Linked DNA regions of Homo sapiens: region 1 is linked to region 2. The links are contacts of gene promoters, found by promoter capture Hi-C in human tissues and cell types (Jung and others, 2019). All regions are on one chromosome and are shown on one strand. Each heading gives the region's core, a stretch centred on a gene start or on the middle of the fragment in contact. The rest is flanking DNA. Distances are from core to core; before and after follow the strand shown.

Region 1 (3,325 bases), core at 426-2,925, 360 kb after region 2:
TGGCCCTGCCCCCAGCCAAGGCTCCTGGGCAGACCTCTGGCCCAAGCTGGACCAATCAGAGGTTCTCTTGGAAGTGTATATTTTGGATCAGAGACAGAGGAGACCCATGGACTAAGGGACTTTTGGGAGTTTTTAAAATGGTGTTCTTGAGTGGTCCAGGATGCCAGATATGGAGGCTCCTGCCTCTTTCCTTCCTTCATCTTGGCTGTTAAGCTCTCCCTTCCATCCTTTGGGACGCTTCCACATCCTTCCGATACATTCCTCTTTGGGACGGGGCAGGGTGCCTCACAACTGTAATCCCAGCACTTTGGGAGGCTGAAGTGGGCGGATTGCTTGAGCCCAGGAGTTTGAGACCAGCTCGGACAACACGGCAAGACCTTGTCTCTACTAAAAGTACACAAATTAGCTGGGCATGGTGGTGCACGCTTATAGTCCCAGCTATGTGGGAGGTTGAGGTGGGAGAATCAACTGAGCCTGGGAAGTCGAGGCTGTAGTGAGCTGAGATCATACCACTGCACTCCAGCCTAGGTGACAGGACTGAGACCCTGTCTTAAAAAAAGAAAGTCCTCTTTGTGGATCAAGTCAGAGAAGTTGGTTTATGTGCTTGCAACCGGCAGAACTCTAACCCCCAACCAGCTGTACCTTCACTGGGGGAGGGAGATTCCAACCTGTTTTTCCAGGGCTCCAAAGCCCAGGCTCTACTCCATGTCTCAGCGCAGGTCTGCAACACTTTCTAAGACACGAAAATAAGCATGGGTTCCCTGGAGACCACAGGGCTCCAGGGAAAGGAAGGATGTTGTATCGGGGATGAGGATGCTGAGCACCAGCCCCACGCTGCGTGGAAGCTTGTGGCTGGTGCTCATCTGAGGTCTCATCTGGCTCAGCGAGTTCTTCAAGAACCCACAGCACCAGCCTCACGCCTCCTCCAACACTTTGTTCCAGAGAGGGCCAGGATTTTCCAGGCTTCCTGCCGAGATTCATAATTAAACGGAGCCGGAGAGATTTCCCCAACCAACCGCTCCTTTTCTCTCCTAACACAGGGGAATGGGTATTCAGTTATTGTCTCTGTGATTTTTCTCCTTGCATCTACTGGATAACTGCTGCTTGGATGAAACCTCAGTACTAAGGGTTGTTGTTGTTGTTGTTTCTTTCTTCATTTCTTTCTTTCTTTTTTAATGAGGAACAACTAGGGAGCTGTAAAGGGCGAAACAGCTCTCTGCAGATTTCAGCTTTTCCGTTGGTTTGCCTCTGCAGATCTCTGGGAAGTTATGCTCCAATAACCTGAGAGTTTTAATTGAAGGGGCTGGGCAAGAGAGGGAGCATCATAGTAGATAATCATAAACTTCTAGAAGGGACCCTTGGGATCATCCACTTCACCCCACTCACTTCACATATTAAGAATTTGCTGCCTGGAGAGGTGAAGGGCCATTTCCATGGTGATAAGCTGATTGGTGGCATAGCCAAGCTTTGACTGTTGGTCACCTGACTTCAAGTTTAGAGCTCTGTTACCCCCTGTCCATTGCCTGCTCTAGTGCAAGGTTCTCTACAGGGGGTGATTTTGCCTCCCAGGTGACATTTGACAAAGGCTGGAGACAGTTGTGATTGTCACAACTTGGGGTTGCAGGGCGAAGTGCTACTGGCAACACGTGACCAGGGATGTGCTAAACATTCTACAATGCACAGGATGACTCCCTACCCTGCCCCAACAAATAATGATTTAGCTCCAAATGTCAATAGTGCAGTGGTTGGTGATGAATAAATGTCCTGCACAGAACTGAGTCTTCCCCTTCTCAGCCCATGGCAGACATTACTAATCAATCACAGTACTTTTCTCCCCTGATCACAGTCTGAATCCTCAACACAGTGCTCCATTCAGGAGCTACTAGTTGATAAAATACCTATCGATCATCCTTTGGCTGGATAGCATAGAGACAGTACGTTCTGAAGTCATTCTGCTTGGGTTTGAGTTCTGGCTTTGTTACCACCTATTAGCTGTATGATCTGGGGTCCTAATTCACTTCTCTGTGCCTCATTTTTCCCATCTGTGAAATGGGGATCACAAATGGGGATAAACCGAGGGTGATTTGGGGGATTAAACAATTGTATGCATTTTTTAAATGTCACTGTGCCTGTCCCATGGTATGTACTTAAAACATGTTTGCTGTTGTTATAATCAGCCCTGTTCTAATAACAAAGAGTCAGCTGGTCTTATTGTCAGAAGTGAGCAGGCCAGGTTTGCCCCCTATCAGGACTGACACAGACTCTTCCTTGTCCACATATACCCATAATACTGTGTCTTCCAAAAGAAGCAGAGCTCCCCTGACTCTTAGAAGGCCCAGCAAAGTAACCCTGTTTTTCCCTGAGCCTCATGACTAATGGACTAATAAGTGTTGGCTTTGGTTGAAAACTATATTCCCTGCAAAGCATGTGCTAAGCTCTTTCCATTTACTCATTAAGCTTCAAAAACAACTTATGAAGGGGGAGCTTCTATACACCCATTTTACAGATGAGAAAGCCAAGGTTCAGAGAGGGCAAGTAACTTGCCCAAGGTAGCACAGCCAGGATTCTCTCACCTGCTTCTGTCTGATCCTACAACTAGTGCTGTCACTGCTATGATTCCCTGCCTCCCTATTCTATTTGAGGATGGAGAGAGAGAGAGAGAGAGAGAGAGAGAAAGAGAGAGATGAGAGGTGGAGAGAGCCAGTGTCTGGGAGGGCACACACCTGCCAGGTCTGCCAGGTCACCAGTGCTTTCTGGCAACCAGGCCAGGATGAGGGAGCACACATGCATTTCTGGAGTACCTCCAGGGCTGAGAACAGTTCTTCCAGGGCAGCCAGATACCAAGTTCCAACCCAGTTTTTAAGATCCCTCTCACCACCTCCCTGATATGGTTTGGCTATGTCCCCACGCAAATCTCATCTTGAATTGTAGCTCCCATAATCCCCACATCTCATGGGAGGGACCCAGTGGGAAGTAATTGAATCATGGGGGCGGGTCTTTCCCATGCTGTTCTCGTGATAGTGAATAAGTCTATTAGATCTGATGGTTTTATAAAGAGCAATTCCCCTGCACACGCTCTCTTGCCTGCTGCCATGTAAGACGTGCCTTTGTTCCTCCTTTGCCTTCTGCTATGATCATGAGGCCTCTCCAGCCACGTGGAACTGTGAGTCCATTAAACCTCTTTTTCTCTATACATTGCCAAGTCTCAGGTATTTCTTCATAGCAGTATGAAAATGGATGAATACACTCCCATACCTGTGGTCTGGAGCACCAGGTTAGAATTCTCCATCACTTGCCAGCACCCTAGTGCTTCTTGGTCACTTGG
Region 2 (3,082 bases), core at 428-2,927:
AAAAACAATAAGAGCTTTACCAAGAAGTGGCTTGTTGCTCACCATTTTGGAAAATGTCACCAACAATAGGCCCTTACCATGCTTCAGGAACCAAGAGAACACACCTGTTGCAGTTGCAGCTTTTACATTTATAGTTATTGTGTATGGGTGTAAATAACTACTTCCTTGTATTTTCCACTGTAGACATGTTTTAGCCCTTATCTCTTGAAATATATATTATTTTGCTATTTTAAAATTTGTTTCTTGGTTGGGCACAGTGGCTCACACCTGTAATCTCAGCACTTTAGGAGGCCAAGGTGAGAGGACTGCTTGAGGCCAGGTGTTTGAGACCAGCCTGGGCTACGTAGTATAGCTGCTATCTCTACAAAAATAAAAAAAAGGTAAAATTTGTTTCTCCTCTACATTACAGATTATAGCTGAGATATTGTCTTATTTTGCTTGTAGATGGTTTATATTTTCCCTGATTTTCATTGCAGTTAAAACAAACAAAGAGATCTATTCAGCATCTATAAAGCGATGTCGGCACTAATTAAATTGAGAACCACTAACATAATAGATAAACCACTCCAAGATTTCCCGTTTTCCTGTTTGCTTTCCAGGCTGCTGTTGACCATATGCCCACACCAAACACAACCTCATTCCCATTTTCTTTACTTTTCTTTTTCTTTTTTTTTTTTTTTTTTGAGACGGAGTCTTGCTCTGTCGCCCAGGCTGGAGTGCAGTGGCGCAATCTCGCCGGCTCACTGCAAGCTTCGCCTCCTGGGTTCACGCCATTCTCCTGCCTCAGCCTCCCGAGTAGTTGGGACTACAGGTGCCCGCCACCACGCCCGGCTAATTTTTTGTATTTTTAGTAGAGACGGGGTTTCACCGTGTTAGCCACGATGGTCTCGATCTCCTGACCTCATGATCCGCCCGCCTCAGCCTCCCAAAGGGCTGGGATTACAGGCGTGAGCCACCGCGCCCGGCCTCATTCCCATTTTCAAGGATCCTAAGCTTTTTTAAGATCTCAAGCTATTTTCTAGGGACCAGCATGGTATGAATGATAACACATAAAACGTGTAAGGCCCTTAAGAATTGAAATTGTCTCACATGTCATCTAGTTTGATGCTCACGAAAATCCTATAGGGATAACAAATATGTCTTTTTAACTTTTCTTTTTACCAACTTAGTGGATTACAGTGAAAATGAAAACAAAGAGAAAAACCACTTTGCTTATTAAATGACTGAGCTGCTGCCATATCTTCTCTTAGGAGCTTTCAGAGATCCCACAGAGTAAGCCACCAAGATTCTCAAGTAGATAAAACCTTAGAATTTTCTATTTTAAGGTTTATTTTAGCCTCCTGATGTAGAGATGAGAAAACCGAGATCCAAGAAAAGCGACTGGCCACGGTCCTGAGAAATCATATTTCGAAGCAGGGGTGTAGGGATATATGAGATGGTCTGTTCTATTACACTCGCTTTTCTCATCGCAAATTTTAGGTAAAAAGTCTGATGTTCCCAGAGACAAAACCTGACGCTGCAGGCTGGAGTGGCGAGTCCCGCCCCGCGCGCCTCAAGCCCCACCCCCAGGCTGTCCGCGGCAGTGCCTGAGTGGCAACCAGCGCCGGGGACCTCGAGGGGTCCTTTGCGTGGGCTCCCGATGGGCTGCCTGAGCGGGTGCGCGGGCAACTTCCGGTGTGGGTGACGAGTGGTGGCCGAAGCAGGGGGACAGCAAGGGACGCTCAGGCGGGGACCATGGCGGACGGCGGCTCGGAGCGGGCTGACGGGCGCATCGTCAAGATGGAGGTGGACTACAGCGCCACGGTGGATCAGCGCCTACCCGAGTGTGCGAAGCTAGCCAAGGTGAGGAGAGGCCGGCTGGCTGTTGGCGGGCGCCAGGGGCTGAGTCACGGCGCGGAGCCTGCTTAGGCCTCAGGGGGCCTGCGGGCTGGAGCGTGCACCCCCCAATGCCTGTCCAGCCCTAGTTGGGCCTGCACGAGTGGGAGACCCCAGGTCGGCCCGGCCAGGGCTGCGGAGTACGCCAGCGCCTATAGCTTCCCAGACCCTCCCCAAAACAGATGGTCACTTCCCTCCGTGGGACTTAGGGCTCCGTTTAACTTTTTGCCGTTTCTTGGATGCTGTTTAAGTGATATTTACCTTAGTAGTTTCCCAGGGGTTAAGGCCGCTTCAGTATTAAGGCTAGATCAGAGAGTTTCGTTCTGTTGCTGTTGCTCAATCAATTTATGTCGTTACATCGTTTGTGGATCATGGCTATGTGCCTGGTCTTTGGCCAGGAGAAGGGGCAGGAAAGTGATAGTACGAAGATGACTAACACAGGACCCTGTCCTTTAGGAGTTGATGTACGTGATGAATTAGTCAAGTCATGCATGGTGGTGAGGGCCATACAAGGGGAAAGTGTTACTGGAACACCGAGAAGGAAGCTATGCATTCTTAATGGTGCCATAAGGGAAGGTTTTACAGGAAGGCTGACGTTTGTATTGGGTCTTGAGGAATTAGTAAGATTGAGGTGGGGTGGAGTCATTACTGAAGACGGAACTACAGAAGTAAAGACAAGTAGGCACTATAAGAGTTTAACGGGCTTTCCAAGAAACAAGGATGGAGAAAGGTGATAAAGTTGGTACGTATGTATATCTTAGGTTCAGTATGCTTGCTGAGGGGGAGCCACAAATTCATTAAGAGCTTTCTAGCAGCTAGCATCAACAAACATCAGTTACATAAGGGTGGGAAAACTCAGCCGCCTCCAATGCCAGACAGATAACAATAACTGATATTTGTTGAGTAGTTTCTGCAGTGTCAGGCACCGTGCTTACATGCACTAAGCCATTTGATCCTCACCTCAGCCCTATGCGATGGCTATTACTATTATCCTTATTTTACAGGTAAGAAAACTTGGGCTAGAAAAAGTTGAATCACATGCCCCAAGATCATACAGCTAGTAAAGTGGTGAAGCCAAGAAGCAAACCCAGGCAGACCGATTCTAGATTCTGGAGCTGGTGCCCTCACACACCATGCTGTCCTGCCTAGAAGCCTATTGTAGTGAAAACCTGAACTTTTTTTTTTTTTTTTTTTGAGACGGAGTTTC

What was found. The method cuts DNA at HindIII sites, captures the fragments that hold promoters and counts their contacts. A contact is called where the count stands out against the background at its distance.
Region 1: a contact is called between a fragment that was not itself captured here and the fragment with the promoter of PSMD12 in region 2, in 1 of the 25 tissues and cell types used here (aorta).

The regions. Positions count from the first base shown.
Region 1 is chr17:67,001,968-67,005,292 of GRCh38, reverse strand. The region is part of intron 1 of CACNG4 (calcium voltage-gated channel auxiliary subunit gamma 4); the gene reads right to left. Among named protein-coding and RNA genes, the nearest start is that of CACNG4, 39 kb to the right of the region's middle. The HindIII fragment of the contact is 4,892 bases long and covers 1-3,325 here.
Region 2 is chr17:67,365,172-67,368,253 of GRCh38, reverse strand. PSMD12 (proteasome 26S subunit, non-ATPase 12) reads left to right here and starts at 1,677. Exons shown (of 11, transcript NM_002816.5): 1 at 1,677-1,842. The coding sequence starts at 1,735. RefSeq lists enhancers at 1,472-1,781, 1,802-1,861. The HindIII fragment of the contact is 13,722 bases long and covers 1-3,082 here.